Linked DNA regions of Homo sapiens: regions 2 and 3 are each linked to region 1. The links are contacts of gene promoters, found by promoter capture Hi-C in blood cells and fetal thymus (Javierre and others, 2016). All regions are on one chromosome and are shown on one strand. The core of a region is centred on a gene start or on the middle of the fragment in contact, and the rest is flanking DNA. Distances in the headings are between cores, read along the strand shown. Region 1 holds the start of C8orf48 (chromosome 8 open reading frame 48). Region 2 overlaps DLC1 (DLC1 Rho GTPase activating protein). Region 3 overlaps DLC1 (DLC1 Rho GTPase activating protein).

The links. Contacts are between HindIII fragments. The CHiCAGO score rates a contact against its expected background, and 5 or more counts as called.
Region 2: a fragment that was not itself captured here is called in contact with the fragment with the promoter of C8orf48 in region 1 in 1 of 17 cell types (endothelial precursors); the score reaches 5.2 in endothelial precursors.
Region 3: a contact is called between a fragment that was not itself captured here and the fragment with the promoter of C8orf48 in region 1, in 1 of 17 cell types (endothelial precursors). The highest score is 5.9, in endothelial precursors.

What each region holds. Positions count from the first base shown.
Region 1 is chr8:13,565,134-13,569,429 of GRCh38, forward strand. It overlaps C8orf48 (chromosome 8 open reading frame 48), which reads left to right and starts at 1,736. Exons shown (of 1, transcript NM_001007090.3): 1 at 1,736-3,155. The coding sequence starts at 1,859. The coding sequence ends at 2,818. It also overlaps a transcript of DLC1 not described here. The HindIII fragment of the contact is 14,151 bases long and covers 1-2,044 here.
Region 2 is chr8:13,128,305-13,132,600 of GRCh38, forward strand. All of the region lies in intron 5 of DLC1 (DLC1 Rho GTPase activating protein), which reads right to left. Among named protein-coding and RNA genes, the nearest start is that of TRMT9B, 180 kb to the left of the region's middle. The HindIII fragment of the contact is 2,710 bases long and covers 563-3,272 here.
Region 3 is chr8:13,275,832-13,280,127 of GRCh38, forward strand. All of the region lies in intron 5 of DLC1 (DLC1 Rho GTPase activating protein), which reads right to left. Among named protein-coding and RNA genes, the nearest start is that of DLC1, 240 kb to the right of the region's middle. The HindIII fragment of the contact is 993 bases long and covers 1,916-2,908 here.

The DNA.
Region 1 (4,296 bases), core at 486-2,985:
GTCCACTGGGTCACGCTGAATATTACAAGGAAATTAATTATAGAATTTCCCACCCACATATATCTCCTTCTAGGATAAAGTTATTTTTAAAAATCAAGAGAAATTTAAGACACGATTATAAAAAAGACAGATTACCCCAGACATTTGGCATGTTAGAAGACACAGATAGATTTTATTTTAAGTATAGCTCCCTTGTTCAATGTTATGGATAAGATATAGCTAAAACATGAATAGTGTGTAAATATGAATGTGTAAATATTCAGAGAATGAGGCAGAGATTTGAAATAATAAATAAGGAAAATATTGAGCCCTATTGGAAATTACTTGGAGTTACTCACAAATTACATGCCACCTCTTTTTTAAAGACTACCATTATATGATAAAATAAAATTTGGGTTGAATAAATGAAGTTGGAGTCTCCTTATCTTCAACAGGAAGCTGGCTCATATACTTGAGAGATGCTTTTTGAATATTTGACTTTCACTTTTTGCCAGAATGAACATTTGGGGAATATATCTGGCTAGACCTGAATAATACCCCCCAATCCCCAAGAAACACAGGAAGAAAGAGAGAGAGAGACAAAACTGAGAAAGAAGGGTGTCTAGGCTCTTAAAATTATCCTAGACATTGACTAAGTCCTAGACTCAAGAACTATTATAACCTAGGAAAAGTCCATCTCTAGAGTTAACATTTTATAATTTCTCACGATAATTAATAAAACTCTACTGTGTTTTTTAAATGAATCCATTAATAAAAAATATATCCTGTGTAATAGCCTAAGTTTGGGGATTCAGTTAGAAAAAAGGTTAGAGTTCCCTGAACTTATAGTACTTATTTCTCCAAATCCTCTGGACGTGTGTAAGGTAAGATTTATTTGTTCCATAGCCATTCACTCAACAGAGATTTCTTGAACACCTGCTATGTGTCTGCTGATTGCTGGGCTCATACTAGTCGGCAACACCGACATGATTTCTGCCTTCAGCCTTCATAATCAGATACTCATACAATCACATAGTTGGACACTATTTAAAAAAAAATGCTGGAAAGAGTTTAAGGCAGGGGTGGGTATTAAGCCCTTCCTGAGGAAATGGGACTCGGAGGAGGAGGATAAATTAACGATATTAAGAGTGAGGACGGGCGTGGATATGCTAGCCAGAGGGGACCTGTATGGACAAAAGGCCAGAGAAACTGATTTGGAAAATTAAGGTCCTCCCCCGCCCCTGCTCCCCACCCCCGACCCCGCCCAAACTTCGAGGTCCTCAGAATGCTGGAGCACAGAACACTACTTCTTACAGAATGGTTTCTGTATTTTGACTTTTCCCCAAAGACATGCTCTACAAGGAGGTGTCTCTTGGCTATAAACACTGCAGACAAGTTTTTGCTTGTGCATCTTGTCCAGCGCGTTTTGCTTGATTTTTAAATCTAGATGCATTTAGGCGGGCGTACACGTTCGGATTTGTCACAGGCCACCTAACTCTATTGGTCTCACACACGTGTGCCACCTGTCTGACCCCTGGGAAACAGAGTTTGCAAGGTTTTCCCGTTGACTACTCGACTTTAGCACCAAAGAGAAGCAGGAGTGCAGAAGACAGGGCAAAATCGCCAACCCGGCGCAAGCAGCGCAAGCGCAGTGGGCGCTGGGGAGCGCGGAGGAAAAGGCGGGACGCCGCATGGTGGCCAGTCACTGCGCATGAGCGGCCCGCGTTGCCAAGACAGCTGGGAAGGCGTCTCCCGGAAGACGACCTCCGCAGAGCTGATGGCATTGAGATCCATTCCCGGAGGGGTCAGCTCCTGACGGGTTCCTGAGCCAGTCTTAACCTGGGCAAAGGAGATGAGGAGCCGAGCCTGATGCATTGTGATGGCCATCTGCCCAGAATTGGCCCAAACGGACAAAAGTGCTCTTGCAAACCTTTCTGATGAGACTGAGACTTTGAAGAACTCTACTGATGAGGTACAGACTTCCAGCTCATTCAGCTCCTCTGGAGGACGGCAGTCCTCGCCCCTGACCTCTGGGAGCAAACTGGAGAGGGAAAAGCAGACTCCAAGCTTGGAACAAGGAGACACACAATCTGAGCTTTTGGACTATAAAAATTATGAAAAGAAGTTGAGTAAAAAATGGATCAACTACCTCAAGCTCAAAGACTCTAACTTTGAACGGCACCAACCAGACACCAAACTTCCAACAGAAATCACTCGGGTATCAGATGAAGAATTGAATGCCCTGCAGTCTTATTGCACCATGAAGATAAATTTGATTCATCGTAGAGGGGATTCTAAGAAGAAGACGAGCAGCAGACATAAAAAGCTGCATCTTGGATTGGATGTAGAGGCTTCAGAGAGAGATGCCTTTAGTTGTACTGTACCCGATGAACTTTTGAACAGAATCTACTTTAAAAACATGAGGACAACGCCAAAACAGGAGGCAGCAGCTAAGCAACACATATCTTATCAGTGTCCCTATTGTAACAGGAAAAGAGCGGAGCTGGCCCTGTCTGCCTTTCTGAAACAAAAGAAGACTTTACTGGAGTCATTTCTACTCCAAGAGAGAATAGATGAACATCTTCATACCAAAGACTTTCTCACCCGTATTGGAGAAGCACATCAAGACTTTCCCAGGCTTTCAGATGACCCCAGAATAATCTGGAAAAGACTGACTGAGAAAAGTCATATCAGATACTCTGGTTTTGAAAGATCAGAGACAGAGCAGAAGTTGCAGCGAGATGGAAATAGTGCTTGTCATTTACCATTTTCTCTGCCATTTCTCAAGCGACTTACTCTAATCAAACCAGAGCTGGTGATTGTTAATGATAATGTGTAATGTGGATAGATGTCTTTGTTGTGTATTTGAGTAATTACCATAATTTCTACAGGCACTTGGGAAACTAACTTAAGACTTTACTATGCTTCCTTCACAGATTTGAGGACTAAGAACTTTCACTTTTTTTTTCCTATTATAGAAGGCACTGTTGTAGTTGGAATAGTTATAAAAACTTTTACAAAATTCCAAGAGAACTATGTTGGTAGTTTGGGCCAGGATGTTGATGGTACAGAAGCAAAGTAGTATGGGGATGTAAGAGAAACTTAAAAAGTAATAACTGTCTTTGGCGATCAAATGGCTATGGGGAATTAATAAATAGTAGATGTTTGAAATGTTATTAAGGCTCTGACTTGTGCGCCCGGATGAATGATCATTAATTTCATTAAGACAGGAACACCAGAAGAGGACTATGTTTGATGGAACTGTTGAAGAGTATGATTATTTGGACATATAAGGTGCATTTGGGACATACACATTGACAGTTTGAAGAAACATTTGATTATTTGTTTTTGCGCTTCAGAGGAAAGGTATAGCCTAGAGGTGCAAAATAAATTGGGGTAGGACTGGGGGAAGGGTGGGGATCAATGGCATATAGCTGGAAGTTGAAGCCGTAGATTGTCAAGCGTTTTTGGAAATGAATAAGAAGAGAAGCAGGGTTGATACAAACTCTTGAGAAATGCCAATTAATGGCTAAGTAGAGAAAAATAAACCTGCAGAAAAGATTGTGAAAAAAGTTATCAAGTGGATCAAGGAAATCAGGAATGTATAGTGTCATAGATGCTAAGGAATGAATATTTAAAGAAGGATAGTTGTCTAACCACATCAATCAACAGAGAAGCCATGTAAAGATGATTTAGTCATGTATTGGGCACTGCTGACCTTAGCAAAAGCCATTTCACTTATACAAATGGGGCAGACAAAATAGATTGAGGAAAAATGTAAGTAAATAATGAATGGATATAGGGTACTCCTTGAAATATTTAGCTGTAAGGGGAAGAAGAAGTAAAGCTGGGGTTAGGTGTTGAGTTTTGAGAGAAGAACGCTTAAACAAATTATCTAGATAGCCATTTTGGTCGTGAAGATTTTATGAACCTTCTGTTGTTCATCCAAATTTATGTAATGAGGAAACAGTATTATTCCACAAGGAATACCATGGCATTTTGAAAACACATTTATGGAGAAAAATGTTAGATGGCATTCTGAGAAGCCATTTATTATCTATTTCCTCTATAAAAATATAAAACCATGGAATTAGTGGCATTACCTGGAGATCACTTTTCTACATGTCCAACACCTGAATTATCTCAGTGAAAAAGAAATTTGTTTGCAAAAATCAGCACAGAAGAGTTTTAGTATTGTACTTCAGTATTACTCTTTGCGTTAAGACCTTCATTTATGTATAAAGATACTATTTTTTTCCCCCATAAAATTTAGCATATTTCCCCTTAGTAAGTCATTCTAAATGGAAAATAACCATT
Region 2 (4,296 bases), core at 668-3,167, 440 kb before region 1:
TTTAGAAAATGGTATCCCAGAACACTCCCCCAAATGTTAAAGACAGAGCCCCAAGTCTCCTCTCACTAGACTCCCCCCATGGAGGGGACTCACAAAAAATTTGTCATTCCTGCACTCTAACATTACAGCTGCCTACCTACGCACACAAGCCTCCCAGGAAATTACAAAGTAACTATAAGGCTCCGTAAGGGCCACAATAGAGAAGTCTCGTTGCTGCCTGGGAGACACTAAGAAAACATATGGGCTTGCTGGACGCGGTGGCTCACGCCTGTAATCCCAGCACTTTGGGAGGCCGAGGCGGGCGGATCACGAGGTCAGGAGATCCAGACCATCCTGGCTAACACGATGAAACCCTGTTTCTACTAAAAATACCAAAAAATTAGCTGGGCATTGTGGCGGCGCCTACTGTAGTCCCAGCTACTCGGGAGGCTGGGGCAGGAGAATGGCGTGAACCCGGGAGGCGGAGCTTGCAGTGAGCCAAGATTGCGCCACTGCACTCCAGCCTGGGCGACAGAGAGAGACTCCGTCTCAAAAAAAAAAAAGAGAAAAAAGAAAATATATAAGCTTAATGTGAAGGCTTTCTTCCTGTTCTCCATTAATTATGATGGCAAGGCAGAACATTAATTATGATGGCAAGTGAACAAAACGTTAAGACAGAGTAGACCTAATTAGAGGATCCCCAGGAGGACTCCGCAGTTCTTATCACTGATCATGGTAATCCCTAATAACACAAGGTCCCACAGAAGGAAAAGGGCCAGAGGACAGAAGGAGCCCTTCTCAGCTGGGAATCTAAACCCTTTTACATTAACTGGATCTCTAACTAATTTGAAGCTGAAAGAAAACACCGCTGATGGCGCTCATTCAACGCAGTAACTCATTCCTATAAAACATACTTCAACCCTACAGCACTGTCTTCCTTCAAAGAGGAACAGCCTTCACCTCCCTCTGCATTCATCCATATGCAAAGGCCACAGAGTCAGAAATAGAGACAGTTGTGAAAGTGCTCCAGAAAAGCATGTTCCTTCTAATTTCATAGCCATGGAAAAGAGGATCTTGGAATTGTGCTTTCTAGGACACACTGGATATTTACACTCTATGGTTGGGCATTAGTTCACCCAGACTGCAACATGAAGGAACGTATTTTTTAGTGTCTTGAATGACGTACAGATTACTCCTTTGCATTAGAGCCCCACAGCTCCAAACTAAGAATTTCAGGAGCAGATCCTGATAAAATGAGCATTCTGAGAAAAGTCAGAGATACAACTGTCTAGACACTAAAGAAATTAGTTCTCTCCCACTAGATCCCAACTCATGTAATTCAAATCATTGGACTGTGCACACATTACAAATGAAAATCACCTTTCTCCCCAGGTCTGCTTTATAATCTCAAGAACAGGCTTGGCATGATGTGGGTCTGGATGCGAGTCACACCATGGGGCCAGGTTTTGCTATGATGTTGTAAAGCACTGAGAATTCGGTCTTTAATGATTTGGCAATAGCCAGGGAGGAAGGGGAAACATCTGAAGTTATTTTTACTTTTGTAAAAGTCTTCTGGCTATACAGGGTGAATGGTAGGGTGGATCAGGTATTGTCTGGAGTCTTTCAGGGTCTTTTATTTTTGCATGGCCTCATTTCCGTCTTCCTGTTGCTAGGAAGGAGAGTGAAGCATGAGAAACTTGTGTTGACAATACTGGACCATCCTGTCCAGCACAAGGCTCTCTTCCAAAAAGTCCGATCCATTTCACCCACTGTACTCTGGATGCCCCCACTCTTCTGGACCAAATCACCCTTCCCTGAATATTTTCCAATTGCATATTTACCCGCTTAAGTCATAAAAATACCACTCTGATTTAAACATTGCGTCATGGCTTAAAATCTCCATGGGGACACCAAGGGAAACCCAAGTACTTATTGCTGTATTTGAAACCACCTCTTGGAATCTCACCAAGCCTCTGATTGGAAGGCATCTCAACTGTGGCCTCCCATATCCCCTTTAAGTCCCATAATAGTTCTACAAATAAGAGTTTAAGTACTATATACATTTTTAAACTCACTTCACAGTAATAGCTTGTTGAATCACAACATGTCTTTCTACTGGTCTGGTATATTTTCCAGAAGCACCCAAACACCTCTTTTAATGTAGAAATGCTCTAAACTTTGCTTAGTCTTTGCTCTCTCAACTACAGTACAGAACAACAAAAAAACATGCAAACAAGGGCTTTAGGTTGAAGGGTAACCTGCCTTTCACCTTTACTCCAGAGCCCTAAGAAAATCCTTCAATCTTTCCAGTGCATTAAAATTTGAAACACTGCCTTCATAGTTAGCAATAGTTAATTGCTCATCTATTCACTGTTTAAGGAATGAGTGGTGTTTCTCATGAAATCTGCAATTGGGAAGTTATGACATAAGTCACCAAAACCACTTTTCTCACCCACTCCAGGGAAAGATTTAAGTTGGAAACTATTTATCCCCAGTCCCCTTTTTGAACTTCCAGGCTGTTTGGTGTCTGGTGCTACTCTGTGTAAATTAAAATAAAATAAGTATTTGTCAAAAGCAAACTTTTCAAAACAGCCAGGAGAGAAACTCAGTCTGCTGTGCTTCATTTTAAACTCTGAACAGTAGTACTAATGCAAAAAGTATGCATCTGCGCTCAGGCCACGCTGTAAATCTGGCATGCCACAAGAAATGTGAATACATGCAATCGCCAACATTTTCTCAGAAAATGTCTCAAAATAACTTTTGTGCACACATCTGCTAACCATTTGACACTGGTTCCCCAGGACTTTAGTTCTTCGATTAGAGGGGCTGCTGCCTTACAGGGCACCCCTCTGACCATCTGCTGCCGTCTGCAAGCCAAGATGGCAACTCCATTAATTCCACACTTACAGTCTGCAAATTATTTCCACCGAGGACCAGTCTGTAGTCCAGATGGATGGCGAATTAGTCAACCTCTTGGAGCTGCTGATAGATTTACATTCAGAGGGCTGCAGTCTGCTGGACTATTATTTTCCCTCATCCCTTCAGCAAACAGAATTTTGGAGGAAAAAAAAAATGTAATCTGAGACTCAGTATTCTGCCTTCTCCCGAGCTGCAATGTTTTTTCCAAATACATCATCAATGCCACCAGCCTAGGCTGCATTCCTCTATGTCACCAGTAATCGCCGAAACAACCTCTGAATCCTGAGAATGAATCCATTTGCTCATCCATATTGGGTGTAAAAAGACTCACTCAAAACAAGACTGGGGATGGGAAAAGGTGGGGAGTGGGACGAAGCTTTCTTTAAGTGCAGATTAATGACTGCAAGCAGGGGTTTCCTTCTGCGGTGATTAGCACACACTGGGTATTTATTGAACATCGGGAACAGGCAACCTGCTAATCACTTTACTTGCATGAGCTCATTTGATCCTCACAACCTCCCCGCGCGGAGGTAATACAGTTATCACCCCTTTGGTGCAGATGAAGGAGGCACAGCGAGGTCCTGTCACTGCCCAAGTTCGCCCAGCTAGCAGGCTGCTGACCAGGATGAGACCCCACCAGCCTGACCCCGTGTCCCCTCTCACTTTCCTCGCCCCAGGGGCTGTGCGCTGAAGGACGCTCGCGGACGCAGCAAACTACACGCAGCAGGGTGCTGCAGAGAGGAGGGGTGCACCTCCTTCGGAGGGATCAAAGGCTCGCCCCAGGACTCTGGAGGTGGGGACAGCGACATGGAGTGGGGGCAGGCTTCCAAGAAGCTGTCGCCTTGTTACGAAAATAGTCGGGTCGGGAGGCGAGCTTCCTTCCTCTCTCCGGCCCAGGAACTCGCTCCTCGGCCTCCTTGTCCGGGTCAAGGGGGTGGGCATCCCCAAGGGGGCATTTCAGGGACACGATTCAGCGACCCATCTCCGGGAAAAAAACCAAAACTGTGTGTGTGTGTGTGTGTGTGTGTGTGTGTGTGTGTTTCCTAGCAAGAAGCACGTTTGCAAGCCACGGGGCTTGCTAAACTACCCCAACACTCTCCAGGTACCTGCGGCCACCAAACCGAGACTTCCCTGGCCAGGTCTGAGTTAATTCCCAGCGCTTAAAGTATCTTACCCAAAAATGGTTGAAAAGGAAAACAAGTTTTTGGTGAACTTTCAGGCAGTGATGAAAAAAAAAAATTTCCAAGCGCCACTAGGGTCTAAAATGTTCCCAAACAGTAAACTCTCCCGGAGTTCACTTTGATTTTGGACTAAGCTGGTGAATGACAGGAGATCAGTACGAGCGCAGAGCAGTCCCCAGAGGAAAGGAAGGTAGAAGGCGGTGTCGCCGCGCCCCTC
Region 3 (4,296 bases), core at 1,162-3,661, 290 kb before region 1:
CTCTCCTGCACACACGCCAGGGCACCTCACACCTGATCAGCTTCAGCTCCAAAGCTGACCCGAGACAGCCCCGAGGATCTCAGGGCTTTTGCAGCAGTTGTTCATCACTACCGATTTCCTGACAGTCACAAGGACCTTGCTTCTCTTTTGAAGGTTAAAAAACCCCACAACTCTCATAATTCCTTATCTAGAAATAATCAGACCAGTAACCAGAGCGGCGTTACACAAAACAAACACACAAAAATCTCAACACTCCATCAAGGTTAAATACTAGAGAAAGGGAGACCGAACACACTGCCATGACAAGAATGAAACTTCAACCAGCTGATGAGATCATTCATGAACCAAGCTTATCACTGCGTCTTCGCAGTAAATTGTTTTCTTTTTAATACCCCTCACCCCCGGTCTCCAATCCCCCTCTGCCTCTCACCTGCCAGCCGTCTGTCTCTAGTGTTTTTCCAAATGACATCCAGGGCTCTGGCCGTGGAGTCCCTGATGTGATCGCTAAAGGACCTCCGGAGAGGGGCTCGCAGGGGGCGCGCCATCACGTGGGCCTTGGGGTCCCCCATCCGCTCGCAGACGCCTTCAGCGCAGCCCGGGCGCCGCGACCATGCCTCGGTACTCCGCCCCGCGCTGTGCTCCCGGCCGCAGGCTGTCGCCTGCCTTCAGGAGGCCGGCATTGCGGCTGGCACTGCGGCCCCGGGAAGCGCCAACTGCAGGCGGCCTCCTGGCCCGCGGCCAAGCGCGCGCGGCGGCCACATCTGGAAAGACTTACCCTGCGCCGGCGACACCCTCGCGGGGCGCGCGAGCTGCAGCACAGCTATCCGGAGGCGTCTCGCTTCCTGTGCAACCCAATGACTCACCTGGGTCCGCGCCGGGCTGCTCCTGGGTCACATAGCAGGTCTTCCCTTCAGGGGCAGTCCAGGTGACCTCGCGTTTTCAAAGGGAAACGCAGCGCCGCAGGCAAGCACGCAGGGGAGGTGGGAGGGTGGGGCTGGCAGGTGGCCTTGTCTTTAACTTTCAAGGTTGATTCTCAAGAACGTTTGCATTTTAGTGACTCATTTTTATCTCATTAACTCATGGTTTTAGATTAGGCGGTTGATGAGATAGGAAGTTCAACCTTTAGTTGTGGTTGTGGGAAGGAAGATATGGCTGGAAGGAGCACTTTACAGATCAATCTGGATTCCCTCTAAGAAATGGAGACCTGAGAGGCCAGCACTGTGGCTCACGCCTGTTCCCAGCACCTGGAAAGGCTGAGGCTGGAGGATCACTTGAGGCCAGGAGCTTGAGAACAGCTTGGGCAACAAACAAGACCCCACCCCTACAAGAAATTAGGCGGGTGTGGTGGCATGCACCTGTGGTCCCAGCTGCTTGGGAGGCTGAGAGGGAAAAATCGCTTGAGCCCAGGAGTTCCAGGCTGCAGTGACCTGTGGTCACCCCCACTGCTCTCCAGCCTGGGGGACAGAGCAAGACCCTGTCTCTAAAATAAATAAAATAAGGAAATGGACACCTGAGTTTTAAACAAAATACTGATCAGCTCCTCACATTTTCTCTCTAACCATACTTCTACTTACAGTGGTTTAATCAAGTCACTCTAGGTTTTGCCCCTTAAAAAGTTTCAAATATCCCCTGATTTTATGAATCTTCTAGTTCCAAGTAAGTGAACTTCCTCATTACAATTGCACATCAAAAACTCATCCCCCAAAATGTAAAAAAAGTTCCAAGCACTATGAAATCAAAATATGAGCCAACTGCTTCTTTTACAAGATATGCGCCTTAGTTTCTAAAATGCCAAATAAATCTATTTCTACGCCAATAAATTTGGCAGATTTTTTGCCTTTTAAATGCATTATTAATCCTCTTTTTTTTTCTGTCTAGCAAATCTTACCTTATAATGCACAAGGTTTGGCAGGGAAGCTTAATATTGGCATAAGACATCTAAAGGCCAGTTCATAACCTTTGCAAGATGAGATAATGTTGTAAAAACACTTTGTAAATTTCAAGAAGCCATGCAAATGCTAATTATTACCATAATTATTTTTACACACAAAGTCATTTTCAACCCACACTGATCTCCTGAGTCTTCTAATTTCTACAACACGCATTATTTTCACATATATCTTTAACAACTTAATTATACAAAGGATGATTATGAAAATAGTGAGATTGTGCTCATGAATTATAACTAACATTAGTACCAATGCTTATTAATAACCCGTATGTCCTAAACTGTATTGTTCCCAAACTGTTAAAGCTCATGAATGTCCCCCATTGAGCATGTACTTCATGGTAGATATCCACGTCTTTGCCTTATCATTGGACTGGACACAGATTAGGAGAGAATGCATGCTAACTGCTGATGTAGACAGACCTCCGTGCCTGCACGGGCCAATTCCAAATGAAAATCCTCTATTAAAGATTTTCAGAAAATATGATTGCCTAATGCCTGGTTCCATTCTAAAACAATGTCCCCAGAGTTTGTGTGTGTTTCTCCTTCAAAGAGGTCTGGGCACCTTGAAGCGTGTTGAATCATGTCATCTGGACCTGTTTTGCAGAGGAATGGCATGAAGTACCCATGGCATGGGTAGTGCCCTTCACCAGATGCTGTTTTAGGCCTGCGGAACTTTAGGATGAATAAGACCTCAACTCTGTCTTCGAGGAGGAAATATCACATCGACCAAAAGTGATTCCAAAATAATGTGATAAGTTTCAAGGTAGAAGCATGTTCCAATGTTACAGGAACACAAAGGAAAATGCAGCCTGGATTCCTAACTCCTCCTAGGCACTGATCTCACCTGAGTTTCCAGTCTAGATCTATGATAAAGTTAGGGACACACAGTCACTCCCAGCATGAATATCAACAGCTGATTGTCTGAGTCGTGCAAAGTGACTGACTATAATGGTAGGAAGCTTTTCTACACCTAAACACAGAAAGGAAGGGGAGCAGTAAAGGGAAATAAGCATTCATTAAGTCCCTATAATGTATGATAAAGTCGTCTAGTGTTGTATATAGACTAGCAAGTCATCAGAGATCATGTATAGGTATTATTATCACTTTTTTAGAGATGAGGAAACTTGAAGCTTAGAAAGAAAAAATTCGAAAAGCTTACATAGTAAGTGGCAGATCCAGGATTCATACTCGGAGCCGTCTGCCTCAAAAACTCATTAGCTTCCTAATCAACTTGGTTGGTCTTAAATTAATGACCATAGTAACGACAGTGACCCATTAGTGTTATCTAGGCTCAGTCGATACTAAGCTATGAGCTAATGCTCTTTAATCTTAGCCAAAATAAAATAACGAACAGGACCTAGGGTGTGGCAGAATCCTGAGTCTGCAGATAGATTTGAGGTGATCCCGACTATGGAAATTAAAGGCAATGAGCCAAGAGAACCAAGGTCTGGTTCAACACACACTGTTTAACAGTAGAGCACTCAGGTCTAATCACCAAAGTGTTATAAAACAACCCTCCTCCTCTTAGCAACACACTTTCTCTAGGACAATACTTAACAGTTCTTCAGTGAAGCTCATTTCAGTAGGTGTTAGAAACACCTGCCTATTCCTAGTGCAGGTTGCATTAGGTAGAATGACCCACAGACTTCACCTACTTAAGAGGACTTTATGTTTTGTTTGTCTTTTTCAAAGGAAACCTCATGGCATAAATGTAAATTTTCTTGGCAGAGTATTTCAGGAGGGGAAGTGCAGCTAAGCATTTTTGAGCAAGGCAAACTTTAATTATAGGTTTTACCATAGGCCAACGTAGAGCTGACAATTTGGCCTCTCATTTCTGACAACTCATTAAGTCCAAATTTCACTGTGAGGGTATTTCAACCCCTTATGGATAAATCTCAGCTACATTTTATGGGTATAGTGTAAAGACCATTCTAATACACAACCAGTTTTAAATTATTCTTACATTTTGCTTTCTTTGTAGGCCACTAGAAATGATAGACACAGAAAAGGTGCTGCTTAGAATCTGCCACTTAGACAATAATTTCTCAAGTTGTATTTCCACAAACTTCAAACTATCCCAGTTTTCTATGACTCTGAGAGGTGAGAATAGTTTGTGATAATTAGTGTTGTCTCAGCTTAGCAGGTAGAACAAGTGGAAATATGAGTTCATTGGTTTTTCAAGATCCCACTGGGAATCACAAGAAAAGTGAGAATAGGCTGGGTGCGGTGGCTCACACCTGTAATCCCAGCACTTTGGGAGGCCGAGGTGCATGGATCATGAGGTCGGGAGATCGAGACCATCCTGGCTAACACAGTGAAACCCCCGTCTCTACTAAAAATACAAA